Regions from separate parts of the Homo sapiens genome. Here region 1 is linked to region 2. Evidence: promoter capture Hi-C in 16 types of primary human blood cells and fetal thymus (Javierre and others, 2016). All regions are on one chromosome and are shown on one strand. Each heading gives the region's core, a stretch centred on a gene start or on the middle of the fragment in contact. The rest is flanking DNA. Distances are from core to core; before and after follow the strand shown.

What was found. Contacts are between HindIII fragments. The CHiCAGO score rates a contact against its expected background, and 5 or more counts as called.
Region 1: a fragment that was not itself captured here is called in contact with the fragment with the promoter of PCCA-AS1 in region 2 in 2 of 17 cell types (M2 macrophages and M1 macrophages); the score reaches 5.5 in M2 macrophages.

Annotation. Positions count from the first base shown.
Region 1 is chr13:100,249,678-100,255,055 of GRCh38, forward strand. The region is part of intron 8 of PCCA (propionyl-CoA carboxylase subunit alpha); the gene reads left to right. Among named protein-coding and RNA genes, the nearest start is that of PCCA, 160 kb to the left of the region's middle. The HindIII fragment of the contact is 865 bases long and covers 1,191-2,055 here.
Region 2 is chr13:100,478,044-100,483,258 of GRCh38, forward strand. It overlaps PCCA-AS1 (PCCA antisense RNA 1), which reads right to left and starts at 2,972. Exons shown (of 5, transcript NR_047686.1): 1 at 2,937-2,972. All of the region lies in intron 21 of PCCA (propionyl-CoA carboxylase subunit alpha), which reads left to right. It overlaps LOC107984574 (a long non-coding RNA gene), which reads right to left and starts at 3,164. Exons shown (of 3, transcript XR_007063850.1): 1 at 3,077-3,164; 2 at 2,218-2,387; 3 at 1,504-1,720. The HindIII fragment of the contact is 6,979 bases long and covers 1-5,215 here.

The sequences.
Region 1 (5,378 bases), core at 373-2,872, 230 kb before region 2:
CTTAACAATATTGAATCTTCCTATCCATGTACATTGATTATCTCTACATTTAGATTTTCATCCATTTCTTTCGTCAGAGTTTTGTAGTTTTCCTCATAGATACACTGTATGTATTTTAAGATTCATGCCTATTTTATTTCTTTAGTGCTAATGTAAATGTCACTATTTTAATTTCAAATTCCAGTTGTTCACTGCTGGTATATAGGAATGTGATAATCTTTTGTATATTAATTTGTATTCTGTAACCTTACTATAATTGCTTATCAGTTCCAAGAATTTTGTTGTTATTGCTGATTTTTTTGGAATTCCTTCATAGACAGTCATCTTATCCACTAGTGAAGACAGTTCTATTTATTCCTTTCCAGTCTGTTTACTCTTTATTTCCTTTTCTTAACATACTTCATAAGCTGGAATCTGCAGTCAGATGTTGAATAAGAGTTGTAAGAGGGGACATTCTTGTATTTTTCCTGATTTTTGGGAGAAGGCATCCAGTTTCTTGTCATTAAGTGTAATGTTAACTGTAGGCTTTTTGTGTATATTCTTTATCAAGTACAAGAAATTTCTCTTTATTCCTAGTTTGCTAAACTCAGTGATTGTTGATTTTTGTTAAATGCTTTTTCTGCATCTATTTATATGATCATAGGATTTTTCTTCTTTAGCCTGTTAATGTGATGGATTACATTAATTGATTTTTGGATGTTGAATCAGCTTTGCATACCAGGATTAAATCCCATTTGGTCATGGTATATAATTCTTTTTATATATTATTGGATTTTTTAGTCATTTTAATATCTAAAAACTTAATTTTAAAATGTTTGCTTTTTTCTTATTTATCTCATCATGTTTATTTTTTTCTCCAAATCATTTTACCTGTTTGTAATAGCTGTAACTTATAATAGTATTTGTAACAACTGTTTTAAGAGTCTTCATTTCTGGGTTTCTTTCTGTCAGCTATTTTCCTTCTGATATGAATCACATTTTGCATCTTTACCTATCTCTTAATTGTTGATTGGATTCTAGACATTGTAAATGTTACATTGTGTGTTTGGATTTTGTTACCTTTATTTAAAAGGTATAGATGTTTAGTCTGGCAGGTACATTAATTTTGTTTAGGTTAAGGCCTTTTAGGCTTTAAAAAAGTTTTCTTAGGGCAAGTCTAGCATAGTCCTTTCTCGTGTTCTGATTAAACAAGCTTGTATTATGCTGTCTCTCTACCCGTCACACTTCCTGTCCTTTGGTTCATAATTTCTATTTCATTATACGTCTATGGTTTTTTCGTAGTATAATGTAAACCCATGAAAGATGTAGGCAGGAGAGAGATATAATAGTATATATACCTTAAGAAAATTTCACTGACCACTATGTGGCTTGGATGGGGGCAACTGTAGTAGTGGGGAGTTCTGCTAGTAGGCCAGTACAAGAGTCCTGGACTGCTGGTAGTTTGTGTAAGTATTATGATTAAGTATTATGATAACTGAGATAAAGAAAAGTGAATAGATTTGATCTTTTTAAATAAAGAATTTATAAGAGTTTCATACTATCCAGCAGTTGTGCTCTTACACATAGATCCAGGAAGCTCATATACAAAGTTCCAGACAACAAGTACAAAAATATTCAAAGGACCATTGTTATATAAATAGAACAGGTTACAGTCTGAATGTTCATTCACAGTGGAATGGATAATGCTGCAGTATGTTTGTAGGTGACATAGATTACAGCAGTAAAAATAATGACTTACAGCTGCTCAGATTAACTAATAGATTTACTTAGTAACTCTTACTTTGCATGTTATTCTTTAGGCAGTTTCAGCCACTGCAGAAACAACAAAGAAGACAGGCAAAGATCTTTGTCTTTATGTTTTTTTAATCATTGTGCAGTGAACAATGTAGATATTGACTAAAGCAAGAATCATTAAAGTTCATTTTTAATAATGGGTGAAAATTGTTTGGATATAGGATCATCACAGTTTCAAAGTATCAATCTACAGATTATTTGCTAAGAAAAAATGGCATACTTTCTGTGAGGAAATTTAATGGATGCCATCTTAAGTAATCAAGCTTTATCAGTTTGGGATAAATTGACTTTTTATTTTACTTTTGATGCGATGGAAGAACTCGAGGATACAATATCAACTATGTTGTATTTAAGATTTGTTAAACATCTTGAATTTAATGAGTGAATAATCAGGTATATTCAAATTGTGGAATATTCTATCAAACAACCACCCTGGGTTCTTCAGAAATATCATGGTCATGAAGAACTCCCCCCGCCATCAGCACAAAACAACAAACACAAACCCACACTTTCCCTTCTGGGGAGGCTGAGGGGGTTCAAAAGGCAAGTGAACTACTTTACATTAGAGGAGCACAAAGAAACGAAACAAAGCAATGCGTACTATCTATGTAATTCTCATGAGCAACTTTCATCTGGGGATTTCCTTCCTTTCTGTCCTAGTTCTTTCTCGGAGTGGGGTGTCTTTTCTCTTCTGAGGTCCTATTACCCATATCAGGGCCTATTCTATCCATCTAGAGGACTGTTCAACTTCCTGAAATATCTTTTGTTTTCTTTTTACCTTGGACCTTTCCTTGAGGAAACAAAGGCCTTGTAGTTAATTATAGGTGTTTTGCAATTGGTTATTTAAAGAAGATCCCCATTCCCCATCACATCTCCTTGATTCATGAGAGATTTCTGATTAGTACCGCTGGATTAGGAATAAGACATTTTCTAAGAAATACTTTTCTTTTCCCTTCTTTTTATTTTTCCTTTCCCATTAGTATATTCTATGAAATTTTAATTCAAGAAATTGTAGGTGAGAAAACCACATAAGATTCTTTATTATACAGCGTACCACTGTTGCATCAATAGGGTGTCATTTTATCAGCTTTTAAGTTACCAGGTTGTGCTACCATGTGTGGCTTGGGTTTTGCTTGAAAAGTAAGGTTATTTATTGTGTCTTGAGTAGGTAAATGTGACATTATCAGTTGGTCAAAAAAGATAATTCTTTTTAACTTGGAATCCATAACTAAATGGAAAATCTCCTAAGCTCCTAGAATCTTCCTTCATTCATCCCCTTATCTTCCACATCCAAACTGTCGCTAACTCTAGTCTTTGTCTTTCTCTCTATCTCTGTTGCTAGCTGGACTGCTGCAAAGGCTTCCTCATCAGCTCCTTGTTTCTACCTTTGCCCTTTCACCATTCATTCATTGCACAGCAGCCAAAGTGATCTTTTAAAATGCTGTATTAGGTACTTCCCTTTCCTGTATCACACCTTCCAACTTGTTCCTTCTGTCTGGACTCATCCCCCCTCACTGATTTTCAGAGTGCTCGCTCTATCTTGTCATTAGGTTCTCAGTTTAAATACTAGTTTTCTCAGAGAAGCATTTTCAAGGAGCAGTAACCCTGTCACTCTCAGTTACATTTATTCCCTCCGTGTTATAGCAGTCATCACTATCTTACATTGTGTATAAGACATACATGCACTTATTTATTTATATTAATATGTGTATATACATAAAGAAATACTGCAGCCTTGACCTCCTGGGCCCAAGCTGTCCCCCCAGCTCAGCCTCCCAAGTAGCCGGGATTAGAGGTGTGAGCCACTCCACCCGACTCAGACATATATTTAGATGCATGTATGTTTGTATATCATTGTCTGCTAGATAGCAGGGAGTTTTCTGAATCGTTGGCCTTTGTAGCCTGCAGAGAGCCAGATAAGGCTTATAGTGTATATTCAGTAAACATTTTTTAAACTGATGAATACAAATTTGATAGTAGAGTTAGAAAGAAGGCTGCTTGCTTTGTGGTAGAAAGTAAGACGCACTGGTAGCTGGGAGGTGAGGGACCCAGAGAAGATGTCCTGTCCTGCACTTAAACCTGCCCTTGAAAACTGAGTCCAGAAAAGTAGCAATGGAAACTTTGTAGTACTTTGCTAACCTAAGTTTCTGTATTTTCTTCGTATATTTTGTCATATAGTATTAGTAGATTTCTTTTCGGAAGCATTAGTGCCTCTTTTATTGTGCAGAAGAGAATAAGGAGTGGAGACTGTCTCTGTGTTGGAGGTTCAGTGTCAGTAGGGGAGTCACTTCTGTGTCTGGGGTGAGGTAAGGTAGTAGCAGTAAGCATCCCATGAGAGGACCTGGAAGGTGAGGAAAAACTTGGGAAGGGCACTAGAGCCTGATTTTTTTTTTTTTTTTTTTAAAGCAGTCTCTTCTACTAGGACTTTCACCTCCTTTTACGAGTAGAATTTGTATTTTGTTATGCTCTGTGTATTAGTCCATTCTCACACTGCTAATAAATACATACCTGAGACTGGGTAGTGTATAAAGAAAAAGAGGTTTAATGGGCTCACAGTTACACATGGCTGGGGAGGCCTCACGATCATGGTGGACGGTGAATTAAGAGCAAAGTCATGTCTTAACATGGCACCAGGCAAGAAGAGAATGAGTGCCAGCAGGGGAAATACCAGACACTTACGAAACCATCAGATCTCATGAGAACTCACTCACTATCACGAGGACAGTGTGGGGAAAACCGCCCTCATGATTCAGTCACCTCCCGCCAGGTCCCTCCCACAGCACATGGGGATTATTACATTTCAAGATGAGATTTGGGTGGGGACACAGAGCCAACGCTTATCATTCTGTTTCAAACATATGTCAGCTGAAGAATACAAAATTAAACAAATACAGTATAGACAAGAGTCAAGCACAGAAGTAAGTGCTCCAGTGGATGAGAAAATGTGAGAGAACATTAGTGGAAATTTCATGTCCAGATGAGGTGAGGGGTAACAAGTACCATCAACTTGATCATTTCTGATTTTTCCAGGAATGCCAACTTTTGACTAAATATTTTTTTCCTTCCACTTCCCATTTACTTATCTTAATTAGAGTGGCAGGGACACAAGAAAGTAGGGATGAGGGACTGAACTGTTGGATATTATTTAACATTATCTGTGTGGATTATTCTTTTCCCTCCTCTTCAGATTTCTAAGTATTGTTTCTCCATGGTGTGGTGACAGCATATGTACTGCCTGAAATCGATTTGGCATAAGAAGTTGAGTAGAAAACCTTACTGTTACATTATTTCAGAATATAGCTCAATGGTTAAATTAAGAGTTAGTATCAGCCAGGTTCAGTGGCTTATGCCTGTAATCCCAGCACTTTGGGAGGCCAAAGCGGGAGGATTGCTTAAGGCCAGGAGTTCCAGACCAATGTGGGCAATATAATGAGACCCCCATCTTTAAAAAAAAAAAAAAGAAAATTAGCTGGGTGTGTTGGGGTGCACCTGTTGTCCCAGTTACTGAGGAGGCTGAGGTGGGAGGGTTGCTTGAGTCTAAGAGGTCAAGGCTGCAGTGAGCCAAGATCACACTCTGCACTCTA
Region 2 (5,215 bases), core at 1,722-4,221:
AGCAAATGATCAGCTGTGAACTGCCCTTGGCCTAACTTGGCCTTGTTAGCTCAGAAGCCCGCAATTCATTGCATTTTACCCTGAAGAGGAATGGTAGGTCTGAGGACATATTTATTTTTCTGTGGATTTTTTTTCCCCTTGATCCAGGAAATTGTCTGTCTTCAACAACCTAGTCTTGTCTCCTCCAGAGAAAAGTTTTGAATCCTCTGAGGAGCGGTCTGTCGCCATTGTGGCCTGTGGTCAGTGGGTCAGACCAGAGCCCTGACAACTGTCTCCCTTCCTGGGCCCAAGTGGACACCAGAGGAGTTTGGGGCTCTGGGATCAGCCTGCTCTGGCGAGTGTCCTTTCCCTCCCACTCTGGAACTGTAGCTTCTCAGCCCTCTTCTTGATGCTGGGCGGGTGCCTGGGAGGCCCCACCCCTTCCCTGGGTACCTGGGGAGGTCCCCGACTGAGAGGTGGGAAGACCTGTGTCCCCTCCCCCAGCACACTCTCAGCCTCTGACTTAGTTCTCATAGGAGGAGGCAACAGCTTCCAGGAGCTGCTGCTGTTACCCTCGACGCCATGATGAGGAGGAAATTGCCTGGTCAGGAGGGCTCGCCTGCCTCTTCACAGCCAGGCGTACTGTAGCGGCCTCAGGAGCGGTCACCCTGGGAGTGACTCCTCACCTCCTAAGCAGCCCTGGGGCATGAACACTCGTCCTGGAAATCCTGCTAGGCTGGCTTAAGGGAGTTGCTTCTAGCATGCCTTTCTGGATAAGCCTAGTAGAATTGCTTTTTCTACTATAAAAAGGAAAGAATGGGGCTCCTCATATTATAGTAACAGAATTCTTGGTACTAGAACTGGTAAGCCAAGAGAAATGGAAGCTGACCAACTTTTCTCTCTGCACAGGGTTCAGAGGGATAGAAACACACAATTTGACTCTGCATGCACCAGAACCTTCTCACTCAGGGTAAGGGACAGCCACAGTTTCTGGGACGTTACCTAAAAACACAATAATCCCACTTATTCTCTGACAGATAATCATCAGTCATAGCCCCACTACTCACTTTTATTAAAGAAATAGCTGGGCCCTTTTAGGTAAAGCCCTTTATATACTGGGAAAAAAGGTCATGTTATCCATTCCTCAAATCCCAGGTAAACTCCTGCTGGTTACTCAAAAATAAAAACCAAAATGAAAGCCCATTCATCACAGGGATGCCTAATCTTGTAATGAGGGAATCACTGAGTGTGGCACAGGGAAGACTCCTGAGAGATTCTGATGGGGTACAAGTGTGCTGACCAACGTCCTAGATACAGTGGGCCCTTGAACAATATGGGGGCTAGGGATATCAACCCTGTGCAGTCAGAAATCTACGGATACCTTCTGACTCTCCCAGAATGTAACTGCTAGTAGCCTACTGCTGACCAGAAGTCCTACCAATAACATACAGTCATTTAGCACGTATTTGGTATGTTACATGATTATATACTGTATTCCTGCAATAAAGTAAGCTAGAGAAAGTGTTAGGAAAATCATAACGACAAAATATATTTATTATTCATTAAGTGGAAGTGGATCATCTTAAAGATCTTGATCTTCATTGTCTTCACGTTGAGTTGGCTGAGGAGGAGGGGGCTTGATCTTGCTGTCTCAAGAGCAGCGGAGTCATAAGAAAATGCACATTTAAGTGGCCCCATGCAGTTCAAATCCATGTTGCTCAAGGCTCAACTGTACACCGAACTGAAAAATGATTCCATTTTTAGTAGGAAATGGCCTACTCTAAGTCCTACTGCTTCCCTTTGCACTTGATGGCAAGGGTCTTTAACTGTGTCAGTGGAGCTGGTTTGGCTCCACTGATAGAGACTCCCTGACCATCTGATAGGCCACTTTTGTTAGAGGAGAAGGTACCCCCTTGCCTACCTGTTCTTTTCTTACTTCATGGGTCTTGATTCCTGACTCAGGAGCACCCATTACAGAAAAGCCCTGGGACTAGATCTAATTTTATTTAATGAAAAACCTATGGAGCATTTACTCTTGCTTCTAATAAATTAACAAGTCAGGGCTTTCTTCTGAATAGGAGGGTCTCTTGACTCTTTGATATTTGACTTTTGAACCAGACTAGATGAGGCAGAGCTTCAGCACATATTTTACCAGTGTCTTCAGCAAATGCCTTTCTCTTTGCAAAGCTCCATATTACTACCAAAAATTAACCCAACTAAATTGTAATTTCTACTCACCCACATTTATTGAGTACTGTGTTTCCTTGAAAGATCTCAAACAAGGCACCTTCTTGCAAGATCTTCACCACCAGACCTTCATGATAGTCACCTCCTCATTAGGCTGAGACGCATACACAGTGATTACGTTCAGACACAGGGACTCCTGTGTCTTAAGACCTTGTGTGACCCTTGTAATTAAAGCATTACACTTTGCAAAGGCTGACAGTGGTATAGGGGCTGTCTGAAACTATTCAGCCATAGCCTGGTCTCTGCTTTCTTTTTACAAATGGGAGGTTGGCTAAGGCAGACACAGGGATGGCTAAGAGGGATAAAGGACGTGACTTCCATAGAACCTTTTGTTCCTAGAGGAACCTCTCCATGAAACACACAGTGAAACTAGATTAAACCAAAAAACGCCCTCAGCTCCAGCAGATCCTGAGCTACAAAGCACCTCTTCCCTACCGAGCCTTCTCACCCATGCGCACTGAGTTTCTGAGTATCAGAAAGTCAGGTTTCTGAATCCCTAGAGAAAGTAAAAATTTCCTTGGACACAATGGGTTTTCTTTGCTTCCTGCATGACAGTCACGAAGGGGAATCTGAAATAGAGAACTTGAATATGCGGCTTGCTGAAGGGAAGTGTACTGTACAGTAGCCCCCCTTCTCCACGGGGGATCCATGTCAAAATCCCCAGGGGATGCCTAAGACTGCGGATGGGACCGAACCCTGTATACGCTTGCCTTTAATGCCTTTTCCATTTCAGCTCGGCACTTAGCCCACACTGTGGCTGTAACTTTTGTAGTTTTAGGTACAGCAGCAAAACTAGCACAAATTTCTTTGTCCTTTTTCACAATTTCATGGATAGAAGATTGATTCTTACTGTAGATCTTAGCAATCTCAGCATACTTTTTTTTTTCTTGAGAACTTTCACCTTTTAACTAAAGGAAGGACTTCATGGCTGGTTTTTGGCATATCCAGATTGCCAGCATCATACTCTTGGAACTTTGAGGCCATTGTGAAGTCAAATAATAGTTCCTGCCAGGCACAGTGGCTCACACCTGTAATCCCAGCATTTTGGGAGTCCAAGGCAGGTGGATCACTTGAGCTCGGGAGTTTGAGACTAGCCTGGGCAACATGGCAAAACTCTGCCTCTACAAAAAACACAAAAATTCACCGGTCACGGTGGCACATACCTGTAGTCCCAGCTACTCGGCAGGCTGAGGTGGGAGCATGGCTTAAGCCCAGGAGGTGGAGGTTACAGCGAGCCAAGATCATGCCACTGCACTCCAGCCTGGGCGACAGAGCCAGCCTCTGTCTCAAAAATAAAAAAGGAACCTAAGCACTGAGACCCCCTGACAGTAGATCTGGTAACTGAGATGGCCACTAAGTGACTGGTTGGTGGTGGGGGTGTCTACAGCGTGGAGATGCTGGACCCCGAGAGAGAGGGTTTATGACCCAGGCAGGATGGAGCAGGACAGCACAAGATCTCCTCACACTACTCAGAATGACTCACAATTTAAAACTTATACATTGTTTATTTCTGGAATTTTCCATATAATGTTTCTGGACCATGGTTGACCACAGGTAAATGAAACCTTGGAAAGCTAAAACCTTGGATAAGGGGGGACTACTGTAATATAAAGTTTACAGTTCCTGGGGTGAAAGCTCAGGCAGACCCTATCTATGCATTATTACAACGTACCATCAATTCAAAACCATAAATTTGCAGAAACATCGTTGCTTTAATTCCTAAAATATTGAATATGAATAATAAAAATAATATATGCTTTGTCTTAGAAGCACCTTTTTAATATGATTGATGTGTATTGATCTGTTTCTTCATTCTAACATGAACATTTCTGTAACAGTCATTTCCCCTGAAATATCTAACCTGTGGGTACCTGAGACAGCTTGTCAGTTAGGAAGAACAGTGGTGGCGATAGCCACGTAGGGCTGGTTTGGTCGTGAGTGCAAGTGTGGTTGCAGCAGCTAGAGCAGAGGACTGTGTGGAGAACATGGGTCAGGTCAGAAGGCAGTAGCCAGGAGGGATGCAGAGTCGAGAGAGAATTTGTTGATTGGAATGACTCAGGTTGACTTTCAGGATGAAGAGAAGGGGCCAATAGAGAGGGAAGAGAGGACAGTTGATGAGGCAGGCTCCAAGAGAGGAGGGCAAAGCGAGATCAGGGGCTCCAGTGAAATGCCTGAGTGTGATGAGAAGAGCGCTGTCTTGTGAGGCTAGAGAGGGAACCAAGGATGGGTGGGCCTGGGAAGGCTGGAGAGGTAGCCTGTCAGGGAGCTGCTAACCCACTTAGAAATACTCTTATTGACATAACAAGGTTTTTTGTTTTGGTTTTTTGTTTGTTTGTTTTGAGAGAGCGTTCGCTCGTTCCCCAAGCTGAAATGCAATGGTGCAGTCTCAGCTCACTGAAACCTCCACCTCCTGGGTTCAAGCGATTCTCCTGCCTCAGCCTCCCGAGTTGCTGGGATTACAGGTGCATGCCACGGGTGCAGTGGCTCACGCCTGTAATCCCAGCACTTTGGGAGGTCGGGGCGGGCGGATCATTTGAGGTCAGGAGTTCAAGACCAGCCTGGCTAACATGGATATAACAAAATTTTCTATTTCAAAAGTTCAGTCGTGGGCACAAGTTGATTTTGCCTTACAGTCTTGATAGTGAAGGTGCATACTATTTTTAAAGCTGTATTCCTTAGATACTACCATATTATCTAATGTTTCTAATAATGGAATTAGCAAAAAATGACTACATCATCCAAATTTGACTTTGTACTAACATACTTGGCGTACTCCATATCCCTGAAGGTTAACAAGAGATAAATTTGGCCTAGACTGGTCTTTTCCTGAATTCATCACTTAAAAAAGGAAAAAAAGAATGGGGAGGAAAAGCCACGTTTTACTTTTATAATTTTTATTCCATCATTAAAAGTACAACTTGCTTTATGATCTGAAGAAATACCATCTAAGTCTTTCTATTAGGAACAAAAGTGAGCCTTTCAGGGAAAA